2 separate regions of the Homo sapiens genome follow, and region 2 is linked to region 1. The links are contacts of gene promoters, found by promoter capture Hi-C in human tissues and cell types (Jung and others, 2019). All regions are on one chromosome and are shown on one strand. The core of a region is centred on a gene start or on the middle of the fragment in contact, and the rest is flanking DNA. Distances in the headings are between cores, read along the strand shown.

Region 1 (6,498 bases), core at 1,916-4,415:
CCTCAGGTGATCTGTCTGCCTCGGCCTCCCAAAGTGCTGGGATTACAGGCATGAGCCACCTCGCCCGGCCAAAAAATTCTTTTCTTTAATTAGCCAAGTGCAGTGGCATGCACCTGTAATCCCAGCCACTGGGGAGGCTGAGGTGGGAGGATGGCTTGAGCCCAGGAGTTGGAAGCTGCACTGAGTTATGATTGTGCCTATAATTAGCCACTGCACTCCAGCCCAGGCAACAGAGTGAAACTCTTTTTTTTTTTGAGATGGAGTCTCGCTCTGTCACCCAGGATGGGTGCAGTGGCACGATCTCAGCCCACTGCAACTTCTGCCTCCCAGTTTGAAGCGATTATCCTGCCTTAGCCTCCCGAGTAGCTGGGACTACAGGCGTCTGCCATCATGCCCGGGTAATTTTTTTTTTTCGTATTTTTAGTAGAGATGGGGTTTCACCGTGTTAGCCAGGATGGTCTCAATCTCCTGACCTCGTGATCTGCCCCCCTCGGCCTACCAAAGTGTTGGGATTACAGGCGTGAGCCACCACACCCGGCCTGAAACTCTCTCTTTTTTGAAACAAGGTCTTACTATGTTGCCCAGGCTGGTCTCTGAACTCCCGGCCTCAAGCAATCCTCTGGCCTTGTAATCCCAGCTAGGGCTGGGATTACAAGTGCACATCGCTGCAACCAGCAAGGCCTGGTCTATTTTTATCTTATATTATTTATTTATTTTTTGAGCCCTGGCTGGAGTGCAGTGGTGCAATCTTGGCTCATGGCAACCTCCACCTCTGGGGCTCAGGTCATCTTCCTACCTCATCCTTGAAAGTAGCTGGGACCACAGGTGTGAGCCACAACACTGGGCTAATTTTTAAATTTTTTTGTAGAGACAGAGTTTCACCATGTTGCCCAGGCTTGTCTCAAACTCCTGAGCCCAAGCAGTCTGCTCACCTCGGTCTCCAAATGTGCTGGTATTACAGGTGTGATCCACAGCACCTGGATGAAATTAATTTTTTTTTTTTTTTTTTTTTGAGACGGAGTCTCACTCTGTCACCCAGGCTGGAGTGCAGTGGCAGATCTCTACTCACTACAACCTCTGCCTCCCAGGTTCAAGCAATTCTCCACCTCAGCCTCCCGAGTAGCTGGGATTACAGGCACCCGCCACTGTGCCCGGTCTGTTGTTTTTGTTTGTTTGTTTGTTTGTTTTGTTTTTTTGTATTTTTAGTAGAGACAGGGTTTCACCATCTTGGCCAGGCTGGTCTTGAACTCCTGACCTCATGATCCACCCGCCTAGGCCTCCCAAAGTGGTGGGATTACAGGCGTGAGCCACTGCACCCAGCCGAAATTTATTTTTTTTTCTTTTGAGACAGAGTCTTGCTCTGACGCCAGGCTGGAGTGCAGTGGCATGATTTCAGCTCACTGCAACCTCTGCCTCCCAGGTTCAAGCAATTCTCCTGCCTCAGCCTCCCGAGTAGCTGGGACTACAGGCATGCGCCACCATGCCCAGCTAATTTTTTTTATATTTTTAGTAGAGACAGGGTTTCACCATGTTGTCCAGGATGGTCTCGATCTCTTGACCTCATGATCCGCCTGCCTCGGCCTCCCAACGTGTTGGGATTACAGGCGTGAGCCACTGCGCCTGGCCCAAAATTAATTTTTATAATGTATTTTTCTTAACCCAGTATACTCAAAATATTATCAGTTCAACATACAATCAATATAGAAACAAATTATTCAGGTATTTTACATGATTTTCTTCACACTAAGTCTTTGAAATATGGTGTGTATGTTAAACTTGTGACAGTTTGGACTGGTCACATTTGGAGTGCTCAATGTGCACCTGTAGCTGGTGGCTACTGTCTTAGCCACTGTAGGCCTAAAGTTTCCCTCAAAAGTGAGACCAAACTCAACAGGTCTCCCTATCTCAGGCCTTGCCCTCCTTGGCCCATTCTGAAACTCCACTGGCTACTAGTTATCCTTCCAAAAAACAACTCAAATCATGTCATCCCCCTGCTTAAAAGATCTCTGATATCTCCTGCCCTTCTAAGACAAAGTCCAAGCACTTTGGCATAATTTGAAAAACTCAACGACCTGACCCCAATTTCCTTTTTAAAAAATTATTATATATTTTTTTAGAGATAGGGTCTCTGTCACAAAGGGTGGAGTGCAGTGGTGTGATCACAGCTCACTGGAGCCTCAAACCCCTGGGCTCAAGCATCCTCCAGCCTCAGCTTCCTGAGTAGCTGGGATTACAGGTGCACCACCCAATTTCCCTTTTAAACTGCCCTCCCCTCTTCACCCTCTTCCCCACAATATGTGCCCATAATGCTAAGAACTTCTCAAACCCAACAAGCTTTTCCATCCTCGGTCCTTCTTGCATTTTTCTCTCTCCCCTTGAACATCCATCCATCCATCCATCCATCCATCCATCCATCCATCCATCCAAGGAGTACCTACTAAACCTCAGGTGGACGTTGGACTCAATTCAGGGGCTATCGGGAAACCTCTTCGACACTCTTACTCCTCTCCAACGCCCTTCCCCACCACCCACCTCTGCGCCCCCAGCTCTAAATTTAGCTCCCAGGACGCCGCTGGTTGGTTCACTCCTCCTCCCACACCCTCTCTAAAGGCCGGGAACGGAATTGTTAGCCCCTCCACCCCCACCCCCATCAAGGTCAAGAAATTGAAGCGGGGCGGGGGGCGGTGAGCATAACTACTCAATCCCCATTTTCTCATCTGAGGAACTAAGGCACGAAACAGGGAGTGCCGAAGGGTACACCAGGCCTGATGTCCTAATGCAGAAACCGGGCCTTCCTGCAGTGGGCCGGGTCAGCTCGGATCTCCGCGCGGTCCTGAGTCGCCGCCCCCAACCCAGCCAAGGATTAATTTAGGCGAGCTATCCCGCCCGCCATCCCCATATCCGTCCCTGCCAGCGTGGCGGGGAGGGACCCCGGACGGAGGGGCAGTCGCTGCGGGGCGGCGCCAGCGCCCGTGCGGAAGAGCCCGTGAGCAGACGGGAGTGGGTCGGGGGGCGGCGGGGGATCCCACGTGGAAGCAGCGTCCTGGAGCTGGGTGGGGCTGCGGCGCGGACTACAAATCCCAGGGGCGTGGGGCGGGAGAGGCGGAAGGGGCGTCCTGGGGCGGGGCGGCACGGGGCGAGGCGGAGCGAGGCTGGAGGCGCGGGAGGGCAGCGAGAGGTTCGCGGGTGCAGCGCACAGGAGACCATGTCCGGGGGCAGCAGCTGCAGCCAGACCCCAAGCCGGGCCATCCCCGCCACTCGCCGGGTGGTGCTCGGCGACGGCGTGCAGCTCCCGCCCGGGGACTACAGCACGACCCCCGGCGGCACGCTCTTCAGCACCACCCCGGGAGGTAGGCGCGGGCTTGGCGACGCCGCTTGCCGGCTCCTGGGCGGGCGGGAGGATCGGGAATCGCGGATTGGACCGGGTGTCCAGGCTCAAGGGCGCCGTGATTGGAAAGAACGGAAAAGGGGCATCGGAGAGACAGCGAGGGTCATGGAAGTGGCCGCCCGCTTCCCCTCTGAGTGCGTCTTCCAGACCCGAGTTACAAACTGCCCCGTTTGTTTCCTCTTTCTGTTAGGTGTCAGACAGCTGACACCTAACAAACACGCACGCCTCCAGGACAGCCACATGCCGAGCTGTGCTGCCCCTTGTGGGTGTTGGGGGCGCTCCCGAAGCGGGAGAGGGCGGAGTTAGGGTGGCCCACGATCCAGGAGAGGCCTGGCCTGGTGTTTTTATGGGATGGGTATTATCTGTTGGGATAAACGATTCCTGCAGGGCCCTTTTTCCTTCCCGAAGCACGCCGAGTTTTGTGTTGGACTCGCGCGCTCTGACTGAGGTTCGGATCTGGGGGTGCTTGCCTGCTCCAGCAGCGCCTCCCGGGCACCTGTGGCACGTTCCCCATTTACGCGAGTGGGATCTCCGCGGGGGGGACCCTGGCGCCACGGCCAGGGCTGTGCAGAAAAACACGTTCTTCTGTCCGGGGAGAGGAGGAGGCACCGTGTGACCTCCCTGGGAGAGGATGAGGAAGAGGAAGCTGAGCTGGCACGGGTGGGGGGGCCAGCCTCGGGCTGCCCTCAGGAACCTGGCATTCCCTCCCAGCCCCGGAGCCCCAGCGCACAGACGCTGATGAAACCTACGCGCCTGTTTGCATGATGAAATAAATCCTCGTGGCTCTCTCCTCCCCTCTCATTGTCGCACTGCCCCCACCCCTTTTTGCTCCTCTCCCTTCATTCTCCTCCACGCTGCTTTCCATACTACTAGAAAACGCGACAGATCCTGGCGCTTGGCTAGGTGGCGGGCGGGGGCCACATGCTTATTTTCTCAGGCAGCTGTCCCACCAGCAGCGAGCGCGGCCAGATCCGAGGTCCTCTGCTGTTTGATCCAAAACATACACTGTTAGAACGGTTAGGGATCTTGTCCAGCCCTGCCGTCTTATTCTACAGAGCCCGGCATTGAGGCCCCAGAGCTTGAACACGTGTCTGTTGCCCATTGTCACACCGTTTTCCCAGATTGGACAAGAAATAGCAACCAGGCAGAGAAGGGAGAAATGCTTCCTTTTCTATTAGAAATGAGCCAAGGAAAAGCTCGCAGGGGCTCTTGTTGCCATTCCCGACTCATCCTCTTTCCCTTGCTGGGTCTTTTGTAGTCCATGCTGTTCTCCTTTGTCTCTGTCACAATGGTCTACCAGGACAATTCCTGACAATTTTGGAGTTCTTTCAAATGAGGGTGTAAGTGTCTGCTGGATTTGTTCAGGGTGGGCCCTGAGGCCGGCCTGAAGGCGCAGGTAGCCCTTTTTTGCACTCTTTATTGCTGGATTGTTGGGTCAAATTGGAAGCCAGGATACTGTTTATAGGCACTTCTGGCCCGGGTACCAAGGTTCACACCTGTAATGCCAGCATTTTGGGGAGCCAAGGCAGGAGAATTGCTTGAGGCCAGGAGTTCAAGACCAGCCTGGGCAACATAGTGAGACTCCATCTCTACAAAGAAACAAACAAAACAACAACAAAATGTTGTCCTAGCTACTACAGAGGCTGAGGCCAGAGGATCGCTTGAGCCCAGGAGTTGGAGGCTGTAGTGAGCTATGATTGACCACTGCACTCCAGCCTGGGTGACAGAGCGAGACCCTATCTCTAAAATAAATAATAAATATAAAATATAGGAACTTCAAATCCACTTTTCACTTTGGGTTGGGAAGTGGGGAGTGGGCAGGGGGCTGACAGACCACAGCAAATCCCCTTCCCTTTGAAGGTCTTTAGCAGTAGGGGGAGTGGGGAAGGGACTTCTGCATCAGGGCATAGCATATGTTTCTGAGATCACTGGAAGAAGCTAGCAGTGCCAGGAGCCTAAAGCCAGCTCACTGTTTGGTCGTCCAGTGGAGCAGGTACAGCTCACAGTCCCTAAGCCAGGGAAACCTGGCTGACTTCCACTAAAGTCAAGCAAGCCTGGTCGGCCTCGATTAGCCAAGGTGTGGACTCTTCCTCCAAAGCCCACCTCAGCCCACCTCTGCCAGGGCAGAGAAGCCAAAATGGTCACATTGCAGCCAAAATGGTCACACCCTTTTGCTCCAGAGCAGAATACTGCCTCTCAGTCTTCCAGGTGCTTGAGGATAACTGGGGGCTTCATTTAAGTGCATATTCTGATTCTGTAGGTGGGGGTGGGAACTAGATTCAGCATTTCTTTCTTTTCTTTCTTTCTTTTTTTTTTTTTTTTTTTTGAGACAGGGTCTCACTCTATCACCCAGGCTGGAGTGCAGTGGCGCAATCTCAGCTCACAGCAACCTCCACCTCCTGGGTTCAAGCAATCCTCCCACCCCAGCCTCCCCAATAACTGGGACAACAGGCATGCACCACCCATGCCCAGCTGATTTTTGTATTTTTTGGTAGAGACGGGGGTTTCACCATGTTGACCAGGCTGGTCTCAAACTCCTGGCCTCAAGTGATCTGCCTGCCTCGGCCTTCCAGAATGCTGGGATTACAGGCGTGAGTCACCATGCCCGGCCTAGATTCAGCATTTCTAACTAGCTCTGACTGATTGGTGCACATACCACACTCTGAGTACTCAGGAATTAGTGAAACATAACTTCCCTCACCTTTCAGATCTCTGGAGTCTAGCAAAAAAAAAAAAAAGATGGCTCCATCCAGGTAAACTTTGATCTCTAAATCGTGGTGTGGAGAGCCAGGCTTTTGATAGAGTGTCTGCATGGCTGTCTGCACCTGCTTACTTATAGGGACTGTCAGCTTCTCAGGAAAAACCATTGGAGTAAGTACCCCCCAGTCACTCCTGCTGGGAATGGCCCTCAAGTGATTGTCCCTGGAGGGAAAGAAGCAGCAGTTGGGTTGCACTATCTCCATTCCTATGACTCCAGTTTGCTTTCCTTTTTTTTTTTTTTTTTTTTTGAGATGGAGTTTCGCTTTGTCGCCCAAGCTGGAGTGCAATGGTGAGATCTTGGCTCACTGCAAGCTCCGCCTCCCGGGTTCACGCCATTCTCTTGCCTCAGC
Region 2 (6,498 bases), core at 1,838-4,337, 690 kb after region 1:
AAAACAAACAAAAACAAAAAACTAGGTGAAGACATGGACGCCCATCACTAACCAGCTAGTGGTCCAAATGCGTCCGATGTCCATGTGTGTGCAGCCACTGCCCTCTAGGGGCAGAATTGTGTGCGGCCGCTCACCATGGGTGTGTGTTTTGAGGCTGCACCATAAACCCTCAAGGCTCCTTCTTCACTCTAGGGGTCTAGGGGAAAGAGTCCTAATTGTATGGTTAGCTTTAGCTCTACCATTTGCTCACAGTGGCAAACCTCGTAACTTCTCTGAGCCCCAGGCGTGCCCTTTGTTCTTCACAGGTCATGGGAATCTCACGAAAGCATGGATGAGGAGACACTGTGTATTAAACCATCACACAAATAAATGTCCATTGCTGAGGCACCTCTGGAATCTGATGGTCAGAGATGTCCAATCATTAACAAATAGGCATTGAGGGCTTATGCACATGACGAGGTCCATGGTGGGCAGAGAAAGGTGTGATTTTAGATGGTGTAAATTGCTATGAAAAGATCATATGGGACAAGGGGACACAGAATGGTTGGGGTGGTGCAGTATGGATGCCACATCAGTTATTCAGGGTGGCCAGAGAAGGCCTTTCTATAAGCAGGTACCCAGGAGGCATGAAAGAAGGAACTACCCTTGGAACAGGGCAATAGGGGCCCCTGTCCTGGGCCTGGGGATTTGGAGGACCCCAACCACTCTGATTATTTAACACGGTTCAGACTCCAGGGAAACGCTTCTCCACCACCTTGTCCTAATGCTGTCAAGGTTGTGGGTGGTGCTGGAGAGAATTTGTGTGGCGAAAGTGCTTAGGTGAGAGAAAGGACAAATTAACTAATTTGTTCAAACCTTTCTCAAAACAGCATCAGAGCACTAGATTATTGCATAAGGAAGAATTGTTTCCCAGAGTTCTGAGAATCTGTCTTTTTCTTCTCTTTGTGTTCTGGAGATGCTCATGGATTAAAGAGGTATTTAGGATGTTTACACATGATGGATGAGGAACATTTGCAATGTCAAGTAATTCGCATTTCTCTTAAATGTGTATGTATGTTGGTTTAGATGTAAGATGCTCAAAGCATACCAATTATTTACCTTGACAGCACTGAACACCAAAATTGAGAAACGTTTTCTCTTTTGTTTGTTTTGAGACAGGGTCTCCTTATGTTGCCCATGCTGGAGTGCAATGGCACAATCATGACTCACTGCAGCCTTGACCTCCTGGGCTCCAGTAATCCTCCTGCCTCAGCCTCCCCAGTAGCTGGGACCACAGGCATGCGCCACCACACCTAGTTACTTTTTAATTTTTTTGTGGAGACAGAGTCTCACTATGTTGCCCAGGCTGGTCTCAAACTTTTGGGCTCAAGTGATCCTCCGGCCTCGGCTTCCCAAAGTGCTAGGATTACAGGTGTGAGTCACCATGCTCAGCCTGAGAATTTTTTTAAAAAGTAAGAATATCTAATATAATTTAGCTAGATTTTCCAAAAGAATTTTTCAGCTTTATTTAAATAATTGTAATTTAAACTTTTCATATTCACTAATTAGAACACATATTTGTTTAATTATAAATAATGTTGAATACCTGAGAAAAATAACTTTTTTGAAATGATATATGAAAACTATTTTAATTTTCAAATATTTACTTTCAGTTATATTTTAATGATAATATATTTTAATTTTTTACACTTTGAGGACAATAACATTTTAAAAAATATTTTATATCATTCATCTCAATATAACACAATTATTTGAAAATGATTATATTAGTGATTACATCGAAATGAAACAAAAAATAAACTTTGTGGAATAAACATATAAGTCATAGATAATACATATGTCTCTATTTTTATTACTCATTCAAATATCACCAACCAATCAACAGAACAGTTAAATATGCACAGTAATAAATTTAATTTTCTTTTGTATTTTGCTAACTTGCAGTCATCAAAACCATGTGTTTACACATATTTTTCAATTTTGTCATTATGAAGGCATTTGACATGTTAAGAGGCTGGAACATGTTTTATGTGATAGGTTTTAGAGTGATCTATAACTTTTAAATACTTGGAGATATGGTTTATGGGTTTCCATTCCGGCCCTTGTTCCTGGACCCCACTAGTGTTAGAGGTTGGGGTGTGTATGAAGATCTGGAGAAAGAGGTAATAACACGTTCTAAGCCCTGAAAGAGCAAAATGCTTGGCTTGTGTGAGGGACAGAAAGGCCAGAGTGCCTGGGCCTTGGACAGAGGTTGAGAGGTAGGCAGGGGCCGTGCCAATGTGGTAAGGAGTTTGGATCTCACTGGACTAGCAATGGAAACTGATTGGAGGGTTTTCAACGGGAGATGATGGTCCTGTCTGCTCTCTAGAGAATGGTCTTTAGGGGAACAAGAGTAGATGCAAGAGAACAAGGGAGGGGGCTGTTGCATTCGCTCTGACATGATGACATGACTTTCACCTGAGTTTCAGCAGTGGCGGTGATGATATGCGGGCAGATAGGGGACATATTTGAAGGAAGAGAGGATTGAATTTGCTGACAGACTGCGTGTGAGAGGCGGGGAAAGGAGACAATGGTTTCCAGGTCTTTGGTGTGTGCAACTGAGTGGATGGTGGAGGGAACCCTAGAGAGAGAAGTGGGGAAGTACAGAATACCTTGTATTTGGAACGCAAGTCCTGCTTTTGTAGAAGTACATGTGTTACTGATAATGGCTAGAGGAGAAACTAACAAGGTAGGATCAATTTCACTTAAGTATCTTCCTCTCTCCCTATCAACAGCCTGCAGCGTCACTGGGGCTGATTACCCAGGTGCCACTAAGAGCCTGTCTCATCCCAGTTGCCTGTCAACAATCCCTGCAAGGTTTTGATGGGATAACTGAAGTATTACTTGCTAAATCCTTTCTAGCTTGAAATCCTAGGATTTTAAGGTAATGAAATGGGACCCAGAAAAATTTGAATTTTAAGAGAGGACTTTCTGAAGACAAAAAAGGAATCAAACTGCAAAGGTAGGAGGGTTTGCAGGACAATCTGCCAATTGACCACCACCCTGGCCACAGTATTGTTGTCCACAATCCTTGTCTTGGTGCACACTTCAATGCACATTCACGTACATGGCCTATTTTTAAAACTAGCAAGTTTGCTTAGATGTCATCGTGCATTCTGTGAACTCATAGCTCAATGCGCTCAAAATAAAATAACAGAATATCAGAACAAGAAAGAAGTTGTTCAGCGGCTCTGATTCTTTGTTGCCCTGATAAGGGAAGTGAGGGTTCTGACATGTGACCCTCAATGATCACACAGCTGGCTGGTGACAGACGTGGGCCGGATCCCAGGCTTTGAGACTTTCTGCCTGGTGTGCTTCCCACAAACACAGCCTCTGCACCAGGGATGAGTAATAGGTTGTGCAGGGCGAGGACCTGACATTAAAATAAGTCTCAGATTTCTTCTTGCAACGGCTGCAGATTTATGTCATTTTCTGCAATGTAGAATATGGTCATATTCCCAAGAGCTCAGAGCTCTTTCATAAATATAATAATATTGATCTCCACCGTCATTCATGTAATCATCCAACATTTATTGAGTGCCTCCTTTGTGGACAAGCCCAGTGATGCTGAAGACGTAAAGAACAGGGTGTGCCCCCAAGGAGCTCCCACTGCCTGTTTGTGGTGGGCAGGGTGGAGACACTGACATTGATGACCCCTACGCAGTGTGTGTGGTGCTATGACGGAAGTGTGCATAGGATCCCACAGGATGGCCCAGCACTGACAGAAAGGAAGGGTAGGGAAGGCATCTGGAGTCGTTGAGCCCTGGGCTCTGCAGAAGGACTACCGGGAATTAAACAGGAGAGAAGGAGCGGTTCTAGGACAAGGGAACAGCATGTGCAAAGGCAAAGAAGGCAGCAGAGTTGGACACATTCGAAGAACTGCAAGAACTTGGATCTGCCTGGAGCATGGAGAGACAGGAAGAGAAAAGCCATAAAAGGGATGGTGAAGTGGGTGGGGCCAGGAGTTGTGATCTCCATTATACTGGTGGTGCATCTAAAGCAGACATCAAATTGGCAGCAGGTGAATTTCCCAGGCCTTCATGCTATTTACTCCAGAGAGTCAAGAAATGCCCAGGTGAGAGCTGCATTCAAGTCCCACCTTCTGCCTCCATCAGCCATGTCTCCCCAAGGGCAGAAGTTTTAAACAGGTGAAATCTTCAGAGTGAAAATCAAGGATATGATTAAAAGTTTAGGGATGGTGGAAAAGACAGCTATGGACTGAGTCTACGAGTGGGTTTTTCCTCTTCCCTTTAGCAGCACCTGCTGTAGCCTCCTCCTCCTACTCTTCCTCCTCCTTCTCCTTCTTCTTCTGTTTTGAGACAGGGTCTCAGTCTGTATCCCAGGCTGGAGTGCAGTGCCGCAATCATGACTTAGTGCAGCCTTGACCTCCTGGGCTCAAGCAATGCTCCTACCTCAGCCTCTGAGTAGCTGGGACTACAGGCACCCGCCACCACACCCACCTAATTTTTAATTTTTTTTTTGTAGAAAGGAGTCTCACTACGTTGCCCAGGCTGGTCAGCAACTTTCGGCCTCAAGCCATCCTCCTGGCTAATTTTTAAAATTTTTTTGTAGAGACAAGGTCTCGTCGTGTTGTCCAGGCTGGTCTCAAGCTCCTGAGCTCAAGTGATCCTCTCCTCTTGGCCTCCCAAAGTGCTGAGTAATTTGCAGAGCCCAAGACAATCCCCGAGTCTACCCGGGGATGGCACAGGGTCAGCAGGAGACAATAAGCTTATTAATCACAGAGTATCTGGCACATATTAAGTAGGTGCTTAATATGTATGTATCAAATGAATGAATGATGTGAGTGTATCAACAGAGATTCTTTGTTTTTCCCCCGGGATTTCTCTGATTTGCCAGGACTCCAAGTCTGATTGGCTTGGGTAGGAGGAAGAAGAGTCCTTGGGGCCGCCCAGGTGCTTCAGGCAAGGTGTCTCCCTTCATCCTTATAAAACCCTTTACGCCCTTCCGGTGTGTGCAACCGAATGGATGGTGGAGGGAACCCTAAAGAGAGAAATGAAAAAGTACATAATATCTTGTATTTGGAATGGAAGTCCTCCTTTTGTAGAAGTATGTGTGTTATTGATAATGGCTAGGGGAGAAACAAGATAAGATCAATTTCACTAAAGTACCTTCGTCCCTCCTCCCTCCCTTCTTTCCTCCCTCCTCCCTCCCTTTACAGTCAGTAGTTCAGATTTACAATCTCTTACCCTAGAGCCGGGTGTACTTCGGGATTCTGGATTTTCTCAGGTTTTAGGAAGGTAATGAGAGGTGACAGCGTGCTGGCAGTCCTCACAGCCCTCGCTCGCTCTCGGCGCCTCCTCTGCCTGGGCTCCCACTTTGGCCGCACTTGAGGAGCCCTTCAGCCTGCCACTGCACTGTGGGAGCCCCTTTCTGGGCTGGCCAAGGCCGGAGCCGGCTCCCTCAGCTTGCGGGGAGGTGTGGAGGGAGAGGCGCGGGCGGGAACCGGGGCTGCGCGCGGTGCTTCCGGGCCAGCGCGAGTTCCGGGTGGGCATGGGCTTGGCGGGCCCCACCGGCCCCGGGCAGTGAGGGGCTTAGCACCTGGGCCAGCAGCTGCTGGGCTCAATTTCTCGCCGGGCCTTAGCTGCCTTCCCGCGGGGCAGGGCTCGGGACCTGCAGCCCGCCATGCCTGAGCCTCCCCCGCCTCTGTGGGCTCCTTTGCGGCCCTAGCCTCCCCGACGAGCGCCGCCCCCTGCTCCACGGCGCCCAGTCCCACCGACCACCCAAGGGCTGAGGAGTGCAGGCGCACGGCGTGGGACTGGCAGGCAGCTCCACCTGCAGCCCCGGTGCCCGATCCACTGGGTGAAGCCAGCTGGGCTCCTGAGTTTGGTGGGGACGTGGAGAACCTTTATGTCTAGCTAAGGGATTGTAAATACACCAATCTGCACTCTGTATCTAGCTCAAGGTTTGTAAACACACCAATCAGCACCCTGTGTCTATCTAGCTCAGGGTTTGTGAATGCACCAATGGACACTCTATATCTAGCTACTCTGGTGGGGACTTGGAGAACCTTTGTGTCCACACTGTATCTAGCTAATCTGGTGGGGAGGTGGAGAACCTCTGTGTCTAGCTCAGGGATTGTAAACGCACCAATCAGCACCCTGTCAAAACAGACCACTCTGCTCTCTGTAAAATGGACCAATCAGCAGGATGTGGGTGGGGCCAGATAAGAGAATAAAAGCAGGCTGCTGGAGCCAACAGTGGCACCCTGCTGGGGTCCCCTTCAACACTATGGAAGCTTTGTTCTTTTGCTCCTTGCAATAAATCTTGCTGCTGCTCACTCTTTGGGTCCACACTGCCTTTATGAGCTGTAAGACTCACCGTGAAGGTCTGCGGCTTCACTCCTGAAGCCAGCGAGACCACGAACCCACCGGGAGGAACGAACAGCTCCAGACGCGCCGCCTTAAGAGCTGTAACACTCACCACGAAGGTCTGCAGCTT

Evidence for each region. The method cuts DNA at HindIII sites, captures the fragments that hold promoters and counts their contacts. A contact is called where the count stands out against the background at its distance.
Region 2: a fragment that was not itself captured here is called in contact with the fragment with the promoter of EIF4EBP1 in region 1 in 1 of the 25 tissues and cell types used here (lymphoblastoid cells).

Annotation. Positions count from the first base shown.
Region 1 is chr8:38,027,369-38,033,866 of GRCh38, forward strand. EIF4EBP1 (eukaryotic translation initiation factor 4E binding protein 1) reads left to right here and starts at 3,166. Exons shown (of 3, transcript NM_004095.4): 1 at 3,166-3,350. The coding sequence starts at 3,206. RefSeq lists a silencer at 2,947-3,386 and enhancers at 2,963-3,257, 3,887-3,986. The HindIII fragment of the contact is 9,944 bases long and covers 1-6,498 here.
Region 2 is chr8:38,714,383-38,720,880 of GRCh38, forward strand. No RefSeq gene overlaps it. Among named protein-coding and RNA genes, the nearest start is that of TACC1, 70 kb to the right of the region's middle. RefSeq lists a silencer at 19-78 and an enhancer at 5,251-5,772. The HindIII fragment of the contact is 4,887 bases long and covers 645-5,531 here.